3 separate regions of the Homo sapiens genome follow, and all the other regions are linked to region 2. The links are contacts of gene promoters, found by promoter capture Hi-C in blood cells and fetal thymus (Javierre and others, 2016). All regions are on one chromosome and are shown on one strand. Each heading gives the region's core, a stretch centred on a gene start or on the middle of the fragment in contact. The rest is flanking DNA. Distances are from core to core; before and after follow the strand shown. Region 1 overlaps CUBN (cubilin). Region 2 holds the start of CUBN (cubilin). Region 3 overlaps CUBN (cubilin).

Evidence for each region. Contacts are between HindIII fragments. The CHiCAGO score rates a contact against its expected background, and 5 or more counts as called.
Region 1: a contact is called between a fragment that was not itself captured here and the fragment with the promoter of CUBN in region 2, in 3 of 17 cell types (activated CD4 T cells, M1 macrophages and total CD8 T cells). The highest score is 9.0, in activated CD4 T cells.
Region 3: a fragment that was not itself captured here is called in contact with the fragment with the promoter of CUBN in region 2 in 5 of 17 cell types (activated CD4 T cells, naive CD8 T cells, M0 macrophages and 2 more); the score reaches 11.5 in activated CD4 T cells.

What each region holds. Positions count from the first base shown.
Region 1 is chr10:16,983,370-16,987,458 of GRCh38, forward strand. CUBN (cubilin) reads right to left here. Exons shown (of 67, transcript NM_001081.4): 30 at 736-910. Among named protein-coding and RNA genes, the nearest start is that of CUBN, 140 kb to the right of the region's middle. RefSeq lists a silencer at 1,512-1,671. The HindIII fragment of the contact is 3,245 bases long and covers 82-3,326 here.
Region 2 is chr10:17,128,125-17,132,070 of GRCh38, forward strand. CUBN (cubilin) reads right to left here and starts at 1,687. Exons shown (of 67, transcript NM_001081.4): 1 at 1,520-1,687; 2 at 997-1,126. The coding sequence starts at 1,641. The HindIII fragment of the contact is 5,551 bases long and covers 1-3,946 here.
Region 3 is chr10:16,925,078-16,929,089 of GRCh38, forward strand. CUBN (cubilin) reads right to left here. Exons shown (of 67, transcript NM_001081.4): 41 at 3,080-3,226; 42 at 507-697; 43 at 164-347. Among named protein-coding and RNA genes, the nearest start is that of RSU1, 110 kb to the left of the region's middle. RefSeq lists an enhancer at 3,884-4,012. The HindIII fragment of the contact is 5,679 bases long and covers 1-4,012 here.

The sequences.
Region 1 (4,089 bases), core at 454-2,953, 140 kb before region 2:
GGCCATAAGGTAGTCTGGAATCACATATGTGCTTTGACGTTTTCTAGCTGTGGAACTTTGGGCAAGACACTAACCTTTCTAAGCTTCAGTGTCCACACTGGTAAGATGAGGATATGAAGCGGACTTCCCTCACAGGGTGGTTGTAAGGACTAGAGATAATCCTCATAAAATAGTTAGAAAAGTGCCTAGTACACAGTAAGCATTCTGCAAATGTGGCTATCTCTAGTAGTTGCATATGCTAACATCTGTTACACTATTTTGTGCCATAGATTTTTGCTATAGTTTAAAAATATACAATAGGCAATTTATTTAGACTGCCTAAAATCTTGGGCAGAAAGTCACCATAGAACACACAGTAATTCCTTGGGATTCACAAATTTAATGTTTGCAAGTTTGATATTTGCCAAGAATCTAAAGGTCTGTACTATGGCATGAGGTATGGAGGCTGGTTAAGAGGTACGAGCCCTTGGAGAGTGGGTCTGGCCTATCACCCTAGTTCTGCTCTCACCATGGACTTACACACTTACATTCTTGCTTTCACATATGTGGTGACCCTTAGGAAGTTAAACTTTATCACGTATTTTAGGGAAGGGTATATGTCAGGTCTCAGTAGGCTGCCCTTTGGGATGTCACTAAGTTATAAGTGTGTAGCCTTCATACGTTTTCCCAAGCATTTCATGAAATTTAACGAGGGCTCGGCTTAAGTACTTTAGGAAACCTCCTTTTCTCACTCACCTCCAGTGACTGCTTGCCATGACGCATTGAAGCCTCTCCCATTTATGGACAAGTCGGTCTTGAATCGAATTGCTAGCTCATTTCCAGTGCTGGAGACCTGCATGGGGTTCTCAGGTGATCTCTGGGTACACAGTTGGGCTATTCTGGGAGAGTGGAAATCGGGGCCTCCATAGATCTAACATGGGATGTAGGAAAAAAGACTTTAAAAAATATTTTAAGCAATTACAGGCCCTTGCTCTGGCTCATTTTGACCCCCGGCTCCTTGGGTTCTATGATTATTAGAGATTGAAATCTCAGCCTCCCTGGGTGGGGATGCACTATAAACTTGAGCTGAGTTTTCAAAGGCACTCCCTGTGCCTTAGGAACACACAAGTTCAATCACCCATAAAATGCCTGCTTGTTTCATCAGCCAGAATTGCAGAGGAGGACGGAGTAGATTATTCCAGAATCTTCCCTATCTCCTCTTTTTGTCTTTTTCATGTCTTTGTGGGCTTTCCTGCTTTCTCTAGCAGAAACATTACAGATCATACAATATTAAGTCGATTTTCTGAATTTTAGGGGGACCTTTAAAAAAAGAAATGTCTGATTTTCTAACTCTGGCACATATGATTAGTCTTAGCATAAAGCCATTTTGTTATGAAAGTTGAGTTCACTGAAGGCTACCAATATCCCAGTTATATTTTTAGGAATTTCCACCTACCCTGCAAACTGAATGTTTTCTAAGACCACACATTGAATATAACACGTATGCTTCTTTAGGAGGAGTGGAAATACCAGCTCTCTGGGTGTGTTTTGGAGCCTAAGGAAGGGGATGCTATGCACCCTCCCTGTGCCTGCTCCCAGCACGCCCATGCCCAGGAACCTGACTAAGTGCATCCCACTTTTCTGCTCAGGGATTGCCCTAGACTCTGCCTTAGTCTCCAGATGGCTCCTTCTGATATAGACAGCAGACAGGGAAACACTGGGTAGAAGAGGGAGGTTCCCTGGCAAAGGCCCCATCCCCAAGCCTGGAAACCCACGGCCCTAAACGGGAACAGGCATTCTTGTTTCCACACCCAGATGTTGCCTTTTGGCCTGCCACGTCCCCATCTCCTGTACCCATATAAACCTCCAACTCCAGGCTCCACGAGCAGATGGGCAGATGAATAGAAGAGCAGAGGAGGAGAAGAACAACGTGGCAGAGAAGGAGAGAGAAGGAGCATCTGAACGTTGAGAGGAGTTTGGCCGGGGATGGTCAGACAGTTGATCATCCACAGCACAGCGAAACTCTATGGGGAAGATCATCTTCACACTCCATCCCCTTTCCAGTTCCCCATCCATTCCAATGACAGCTACCTCCATCGCCCAATAAAATCCCCACATTCACCATCCTTCAAGTCCGTGTGTGACCTGATTCTTCCTGGATGCCAGACAGGAAGTCGGGTACCAAGAGTCACTGAGCTGGTTAACACTTGAGCCCTCTGTGGATGGCAGAGCTAAAAGAATACTGTAGCCTGCCCATGAGGGCTTTGAGAGTCACAGGCACCCACCACTAGACCGTACTGTGGGTAGCATCTTGCCTGGGTTCCTGCACCTGCCAATCTGCATGCTCCCCCTCCCATAAGGGGTTTGAGGGCACCACAGCCGAACAGATGTGCCACACCCCTGTCACAGGTCCTGCGACGGGGTGGTCAGGGAACTCTCTTGTTTCACTTCTAGATCTATCACACATGACTTCAGACCACGTAGGCTCCTCCAAATCTCCCAAACTGTCTGTCTGACTGGAATCCAATACCCCAGTGACATAGTCCTCTGGAAAGAGTCTCCTTGGGCTCACGGAGGGCATCTTGCAGGCAAGGATAGCCTAGGCCAGGCCTCCAGGAGGCCTCACAGACAGGTTTCTCAGTCTCCTCTGGGTCCTGTTTATCTCCTGTGTGTATGTGTGGGGCTGGGGAGGGTGGCGAAGGCAGGATGGGAATCAAATAGAAGATGCTGACTCCTCATCTTCAGGTCTTTTCAAACTTCGATTTGTAAAAGAAAGACCATCTTTGGGAGACAGTTTTCAAAGAGTTGGTATCTGAGACCTTCATAACTGCAACTGCAGCCATCCATGTACAGGCACTCAGGACCAGAGCCAGGAAGGCGGCTCTCAGGGGGATCTGGGCACAGCGCCCTCCCACCCTCCCTCTGTGCCTTTCCCCCACCTCGGGACACTCTGCCCCCATTCCTCAGCACCCCCGGCCCTTGCCCACCCTCAGGACCCACTGCTGACTGATAGGAAAATCACTCAAGTGTTCTCTGGGGAGAGGGAGTGAGAACAAGAAGCCTACTTTGGGGAGGAGTGTGTGATTTGAATCTATAATGATTTCTTTGTCTGATTAATTCCCCCCAGCCATCCGGTAAAGGCCAAAATGAATGAAACGGCTGTTACACAGAGGGCTGAGCACAAGGACAGTAATTGCAAAGGAATGAAGCATACCGACTGCTTCAGGCTTATTTTTATTAGGAGGAGCTGATGTTTGTGCACTCCCCCCAAGTCCCATCAAAAGCAGGGCTTTAGGAAGAGCCCTGTGTGGCCCCTGACACGTACACATATGCAAATGGCAGAAGCAAGCTTGCATGGTGTGTAGAGCCAGCTTTCTTTCCCATTTTCAAGATCTCCCTACCCCCTCGCCTAGGGCACAGTCCCCACAGCATGAAACTGACAGCATGTGCTCCCAATCACCCAAGCCCAATCAACAGCACATATTTGGAAAGACCACTGAACGCCAAGTGTTAAGTTCTAACAAAGAAAACTCGCACGTCGGCAAAATATTCTTTGTTTTCTCTGCTCAAACATCCCCTTGAGATCACAAACATAATGGGTATGAGTTGGCTGGACCCAGAAGCCTCTAGAAGAATAAACACTGCCACTTTGGACATTATTTACTTCCCTTCTTGCAAGGCTGAGCTCACAAAAGCCTATCGCAGAGAGGCCAGACTGAGGTAACTGTCCACACCAAGCAATTGTCCTGGTTTACTGCTCCAAGGAGTGGATTTCCTTTTCTGCCTAATGCCAGTTCAGAATCTCTCTAAAGACTTTCTCAGAGATTAAAGTAAAATCAGGCAGAGTGTTTCCATGACCGAAACAATGGTCCTTCTGGCTTCCACAAATAAAACCGATAGTACATGACTCTTCAAAAGAAGAAAAAGATGGAAAGAATTTCAGGGCATGGTTCATTCAACTACAGCATATGACTAAACTTTGGGGGAAAAAGAAGTGGTCTGATGATCAGAGATTTAAAAATGTGTTTTAGCAAATGCTCAGGATGGAGGACATTTCAAAGCCTATGGTTTTAATCTGTTTTGAACATTTCTTTCTGCTCTGTTAGCTCC
Region 2 (3,946 bases), core at 437-2,936:
AGTAACAATAGATCAAGGTATTTTCCATTTGTATGTTTTCCTATAATACCAGTTTAGGGTGCTTATTAAGAAACCTGGCTTGGAAGCAGACTGTTTAGGTTTTAAGTCCTGGCTCAGCTATTTATTGCTGTCCTGGGCAAGTTACCTAACTGCTTCAGGGTTTCTTTACCTCTTGTAAAACTAGGGTGACAATAAAGGCCACCTCATAGGACAGCTGTGAAGGTCAAATGAGATAACATCCATACGGTGCTAAGCACAGTGGATGGCCCACAGTAAGCTCTGAATAATGCTGACTTCTAACATTATGACTGAAATATGCAGTGATTATTGGGAAATGAAAACACCCAGTAAGGCAGGAGAATAACTGGCCAATTCTGTTCTGTGGCAAAAGCAAACTGGTCACATGTCCACATATCCTTGGTCCCCTACTTCCTCGCATCCCCTGTGGAGGAGTTTCAGTTCCACCCTCCGTGCCTTCTCTGGACTAGGGTGCATTGTCTGGCACAATGAGCTTCTATCTTTTAGCATACTCCCTCTACCCACTATTAACCCCAGGCCATCGTCCTTTACAAGAACATGTCTGATGCCCAATTATGTTCTCTATGCTAAAGATTCAAGGTACACTAGGAAGGGGGAGGGAGGCTGAAGACAGGTTGATTAATGAATACAATATATAGTTAGATAGAAGAAATAAGACCTAGTGTTTGATAGACCAGTAGGGTGACTATAGTTAACATTAATCTATTGTACATTTCAAAATAACTAGAAGAGAACAATTCATATGTTCTTAGCATGAAGAAAAGGTAAATATTTAAGGTGATGGATATCCCAATTACCCTGATTTGAACTTTACACATTATAGGAATGTATCAAATTATGTATTAATAAAAAATAATAATTAAAAAAGATTCAAGGTACAGATTAATCTAGACTTGTTCAATTAAGTCACCGTATATGGATATACAAAATGACTTCAATATATTTCCAGTGTATTACCTGATGTAAACACTCACTGAGATCTTCATCATTTAATTTAATTTTTCCCAGGGATCCGGTTCTAAACTCAATGTTTTGAGCAGACCCCGTAAGAAACACCAAATTTCCTCTCTCTGTAGCCATTCGAGGCCTATATAATTCAAACGAGAGAATGCATCAGTAATTAGCAAGTACAATTTTTAAACCAAAATAACAAAGTTTCTTACTGAATAACTACAGGCCAAATACATCTTCACTTTTTGATCATCTCAACCCAACTGCCCCTGCTCATCTGCCACTTTTTTCTCTGCACATTTCTCAGAGATACCTCCTGGCAATTGCAAACAGATTATTTGCAAAATGACAGATAATAATTTGTGCATAGGAAAGTAATTTCATACCTCAGTCTAAATGTTTTTCCCTGTTTGCTTCTCAACATAATTTTCCTCAAGAAAAATTGCACCTTTGTTTATCTGGCTATTTGGGAAAACTGGTGAGGAATTAGCCTAGTCCCTGAGCAGGAATGACCCATGTGTTTACTTACTGTTGGAGATTGATGCTTCTTTTTTGTCTCTGCAGCTCAAGTTCTCCAGCTTCGCCATTTACTTCAGCAAATATTAATAAGGTAAGCAAACTCCAAAGAAAAGGTAAAGACATGTTCATCATCAACCTCCCAGGTTGGCAGGTAAGAGTGAGGCCACTCCAACCAACTGAGCATGGGATTTTGGAGAACAGCAAACCAGGCAGGTGTACTTTGAACCATGGAATATCCTGTAACTGTTGAGTTTTTTCTTCTTTGCCCTAGAAGGCTATGTTATTTTTTCTTCCAGAGGGATGTAAATGATCTTAGATCTTCAGTACTCTTCAACTTGTGAGAGGTCAAAATCTACCTTAAGTGATGCGCAACTTAATCATTATCTATTTGACCTTTGAAACAGTAACAAGCAGCTTTGAAAACATCCACTTAAACAATCTTTGCTTAAGAAGTAACTAGGTTTCAACAAAAGTAAACTGGTCATTATCTACACCTTTCTCTGTTCCCCTCCTTCCTCACCTCCCTTGCAGAGGAGTTCCACCTTTACCCAGCGCTAGGAAAACTAGATATCCACATGCAAAAGAAGTTGGAGGCTTACCTCATACCATATGCAAAAATTAACTCAAAAAAGTTCAAAGATCTAAATCTAAGAGCTAAAACTATAAAATTAACTCACAATGGTTCAAAAAATCTGAAACTATAACATAAAACTCAGAAGAATAGGACAAAAATTCATGACCTTGGATTTTGGATTTGGCAATGATTTCTTGAGTATGATACCAAAAGCATGGGCAAAAAAAGAAAAACACACAGACAACCAAAAGATATAAATTGGAATACATCAAAATTAAAAACGTTTGTGCATCAAAAAATACATCAACAGAGTGAAAAAGCAACTCCCAGAATGGAAGAAAATATTTGCAAATCATATATATATGAAAATGGGTTAATATCCAGAATGTACAAAGAATTTGTACTTTTTACTTTTTATCATCCCTGTGGGACCTATGGACGGCTGTGGAATCCATTCCCACTTTCCACACTGCGCTATACACCCTTCCAGCTGGATATATGGTTTGAGGACATGGAGCACTGATGTCCCCACTCACTCTGTGCTGGGACTACAGAAACCACTGAGAGTGATGAAAATATTCTACATTTCGATTGTAAAATCAACTATTGATGCACTCAGACTTTCCATGAGCACACAGACAAAACTGAATTTGAGGGAGAGCTGTAAAAATTTCACTTCTAAGAAAAATCTCTAGGTAATTACCATTGCATTGGTTAATACCCATGCAGGCTCTTTCAGGACAAGCCTGTTTGTGTTTTACTTATTTTGTGTCTTACTTATGTAGGCTCTTTGAGGAGAGGATCATTATGTACCATAGCTTATAATTCTTTACTTATGCCGGGCGCGGTGGCTCACGCCTGTAATCCCAGCACTTTGGGAGGCCGAGGCGGGCGGATCACGAGGTCAGGAGATCGAGAACATCCTGGCTAACGTGGTGAAACCCCGTCTCTACTACAAATACAAAAAATTAGCCGGGCTTAGTGGCGGGCGCCTGTAGTCCCAGCTACTCGGGAGGCTGAGGCAGGAGAATGGCGTGAACCCGGGAGGCGGAGCTTGCAGTGAGCTGAGATCATGCCACTGCACTCCAGCCTGGGGGACAGAGCGAGATGCCGTCTCAAAAACAAAACAAAACAAAAAAAAACTTTACTTGTGATACTCAAATAGTCACTGCTTTTAAAAATTTTTTTTAAACCTTCCCAATTTCTTCTATATGTCTCTTGTATCTGCTTCTTTCACTCAACATAATGCTTTTGTAATTCATCTGTGCTGTAGTGTATATCATTAATTGGTTCCCTTTTATTATTGAGTAGTATTTCATCATATGGCTATCCCACAGTTTGCTTCTCTACTCATCAGTTGATAAACACTTGAGTTATTTCCAGTTTGGGACTATTATAAATAAAGCTGTTATGAACATTTGTGAACAGGTCTTTGTGTCAACATAGGTATCTCATTACAATTTTAATTTATATTTCCCTAATGACCAAAGATGTTGGGCATCTTTTTATGTATATTTGCCATTTGTTTATCTTCTTCGGTGAACTGTCTGTTTAGATATTTTGCCTATTTTTTAAAATTTTGTTGTTTGTCTTTTATTGATTGTAAGAGCTCATATATTCTAGATACAAGAATTTTCAAATACGTATTTTGCAAATATTTTTCTGCCAACCTGTGGCAAGTCATTTTGCTTGCTTAAAAATATTTTTCAAGGACAACAATAAGACACAAAAGACTACTTCCTAAGTGATTCTATATCACATGATTCCATATGAAAATCTAAAAAAGCCAAAACTACACTGATTGATAGACAACAAATCAGAGGCCAGGGGTTGGGGAGGAGATTGATCGCAAGGAGGCATGAG
Region 3 (4,012 bases), core at 129-2,628, 200 kb before region 2:
AAGTAGTCACGATGAGATATTGAATGTATCAAATATAATAAGTACTTGAGAGTAGGCATTCTTATTAATTCTATTACTGTTGGTTCAGAAAAGAAAATTTTATATCAAAGAAGATCAAGCAATTGCAGGAAAAGCAGATATAATTCTCAGTGAAAATACTTACCTAAACTCTTTGCCTCATATTTGATTTTAAATCCTTGCCCTTCATTACTGTGATCAGAAATAAACTGAACAAACATTTGATTATCCGAGGTGAACAGAGTTGATGAAGCATGACTGCCACAAAAATGACCATTTCCTCCAGGGGGTCCCAAGGGTGGAGAACAGATATCAGGACCATTTCTTAGCTGGAAAGACAAATTAAAATTTCATCAACTCCTTTACATTGCAAAAGAAGGAGTACGCAATTCTTATCCATTTATGTCCCAGGAGAGAAAAATTATCATTTTGTTTTCTGAATGAAGTCTATGGAAAATGTAATTAGAAAGGGTAGCAGCAAGACCTACCACCAAGTAATCCCCCTGGTTGCAAGAAGAATCTCCATTTGGAATCTGGAAAGGCTGTTCAAAATGGACAGCAATGGTCAGGCCACTTTGGACCAGGACGTGCCAAGAACAGTTGAGGTTGGATGGGTAAGTCTCTGGATACTTGGGGGACGTGATGATCCCTCTGTCTGCATGCAAATATCCACCGCAGCCTTCCCACAAAGAAACAAAGGTCGGTTATTTAAATAGCATTGGCAACTGGATTTTTATGCTTTCTTAGTTTTCTTGGGGGGTTTTCAAAGTGGAGGCAATAAAAATGCTTGAAAATAAAGCCAGAGTGCAGGAAATGATTATCATAACAAGCATGTATTGAGCACATGCTATTGGCTACTCAGTTTGTGGTGGTCATTGAGATCTGGGATACAGAGGTAAGTAAACAAGACAAATTACCTGCTTTCATAAAGATTTCTTTATAGATGGGGAAGACATACAATAAACAAATACATGATATGTGAGATGGTGATAAATTCTATAAAGAAAAATGGATGAGAGGAGGGAGAAGGGTACTTTATTGTTAGAGTTAAGTTAGAAAAGCCACGTCATTGGAGTAACATCTTAGCAGAGACATGAATGAAATGAAGGATCAAGCCAGATAGTTATGGGGGAGAAAACATTCCAGTTCAGAAAACAGTGTAAAGGCTTGATGTGTTAGAGGTACATCATGGAAGTCAGAATGGATGAGGCAGAATGAGAGATTCCAAAGGTAGCATGGCTAGGTCATGCAGGAAACTGAAAAGACTTATTCTGAATAAGAAGAGGAAGATGTTGAAGGGTTTTGGGCATCAGAATGGCATGATCTCACTTAAGTTTGAAAATGTCACTCTATGTGCAGTCCTTAGACTGTAAGGGGTGGAGGACAGGGAAGGACAGGAGCAGAGTGTCCAATAAGGAGGGGACCGCCTGAGGCCAAGGAGAGATGATAGGTGCACGGGCTAGGCTGGTAGCAACAGAAATGGAGAGGCGTGGTTGGAATCTAGATACATTGTGAGGGTAGAGCCAGTGTGATTTGTTGATGGTTAAGTGTGAGACAAACAGAAAAGTCAAAAATAACATCAAGATTTTGACTTAAATAATGAGAAAAATGTACTTTCCATTTGCTGAGATTATGAGGAGTGTAGAATTGGGGGGTGGTGGCATGGAAAAGGGTGGGAATAAAGTGTTCAACTTTCAAAGGTGAAATTTTTTTTTCTATCTATCTATCTATCTATCTATCTATCTATCTAGTCTAATTGGGATACAAGTGGTTTTTCGTTACATGGATGAATTGCATACTGGTGAAGTCTATATTTTAGTGCACTGGTTCCCTGACTAGTATACATTACACCTAATATGTAGTTTTTTATCCCTCATACCCCACCCATCCTCCCCACTTCTGAGTCTCCAAAGTCCATTATACCACTCACAGGTTAAATTTGAAATACATTCTAGACCGGGAGCTGCCAAGTATGTATATATACATAGACACACACACATATTTATATATATTATATACATATATAAACACACATATTAATTCCAATGGTTCCACCCTTACTATATACATACATGTGTATACATGTATGTATGTATAATGAGTTGCGATACATAGTAATATATACATGAGAGTGAGAGGGCAGGAGATAAAGGAAGAGGATAAAAGGAGGAGGCATTAATTCTCCAGTTGTCAGGGACCAGAAGCTCATCAGTAAGGGCAGACATCTCACACAGCTAGTTAAATTGTAGAGGTGAAAATGTATCTTAGGTCTAGTTCCAAAGCCCATGCTCTTAAGCCACTATGCAGCCTGCCTCCCTTGAGCGTGAGGAACACAACTTATCTTCAGTTGCTCCCTACTTTATAAAAGGTATATATAAGCATGGAGGAAATATTAGATTAATTTTTAATGTTAGATTGAGAATCTACTTTAAAATTATGTTTTTTGATCAAAACATGAGAGTCTTTCACTCTTCCTTGGACTACTTTATCACCTTTCAGTTAGTTTGGATTTAAGGCTGTTACTGGACTTCACATGTCAAGTTTGAAAAGTCTCAATCATACTGTGCATGATGGTATCCCATATATGGTGCCCGCTTTTGACTCATCAAATTCATATTTCAAGAGCAACAAACTCTTCCTGCCAACCCTCAGATGGCTGACTTCAACCAAGTAATTTATGAGAATAAATGATGACGTTTTGCTCCTTCGATGAGTTATGGATATGAGCTGTGCTCTATCTAGTTCCAGCCCTCAGCTAGGCTGAAAAATTGCTTTAAAGCTCTCTCTCATGCATTCCCTGGACACACCTCCTTTGGAGCGAAGATGCCACACCAGAGACCTGAAGGCAGCACACTTTTGTACGACTTGGCCCCAGTGCTTTGGATGAGGACTCAGCACTGATGTAAGGGGAGCCAGCCATCCAGAGCCTGGGCAGAGACCCATGTCCTCTGACTTGTCTTGTGTCCTGGTGCCCAAAAACATTATATTAGGAAGAGAGAAAGAGAGAGGAAAAGAGAGGAGATGAGATAACATGGGATTAAAAAATATTTGAACTCATTACTCTTGTGAAAGGATGCATTGAAGCCTGCCCTGGTTACACTGGAGTCCGAGGTGAAGCGGATGAACATGTACTCTCCAGTAGACCGGATGGGCCCAGGGATCTCTCTGCCACAGAGAACTGCTAGCTGCTGGGCCAAGTTATTATCTCCTACGTTGAAAGAAAGGGAACAACATGAAAATACATCTTGAGAATCTACTCTACAATCATTTGCAGCTTAGCCAAAGCAGCTCACACATTTTTCTCAGAACATCAGGACTCGTAGGAGATAATGGGATCCTCAAAAAGAAGGACCCCTCAGGGGTGATATCATTCTGGCTCCAGCTTGCAATGGTGCTTCCTGCCCTTTTCTTTACCCCCACCCCACCCCACCCCCCCCTTTTTTTTTTTTTTTGAGATGGAGTCTTCCTCTGTTGCGCAGGCTGGAGTGCAGTGGCACAGTCTCGGTTTAATGCAGCCTCTGCCTCTGGGGTTCAAGTGATTCTCCTGCCTCAGCCTCCTGAGTAGCTGGTTTTATAGGGGTGAACCACCACTTCTGACTAATTATTGTATTTTTAGTAGAGGCAGGGGTTTTACCATGTTGGCCAGGCTGGTCTTGAACTCCTCATCTCAAGTGATCCGCCCTCCTCAGCCTCCCAAAGTGCTGGGTTCTTTACCCTTTTTGATAAAGACGTCTTTGACAGTTTCCACCGTCTTTCTAAAAACTGGCTGCCAGTTCTCCCTGTCACTAAAACTCAAAATCAGAGTACCTGGGATTGGGAAGCGATGGAGACCCAGTGATGATATGTCTGTCGATTAGAGACTCTGACCTCAGTTACTCTGATTGCTGAAGGTCAAGTAGGTAAAAGAAAAAAAAAAAACAGTTGGCTCTTTGACCTCAGATCCTACACTAATGTTACAATATCATTCACCAAAAGGTATGCAATTGTATGTGCC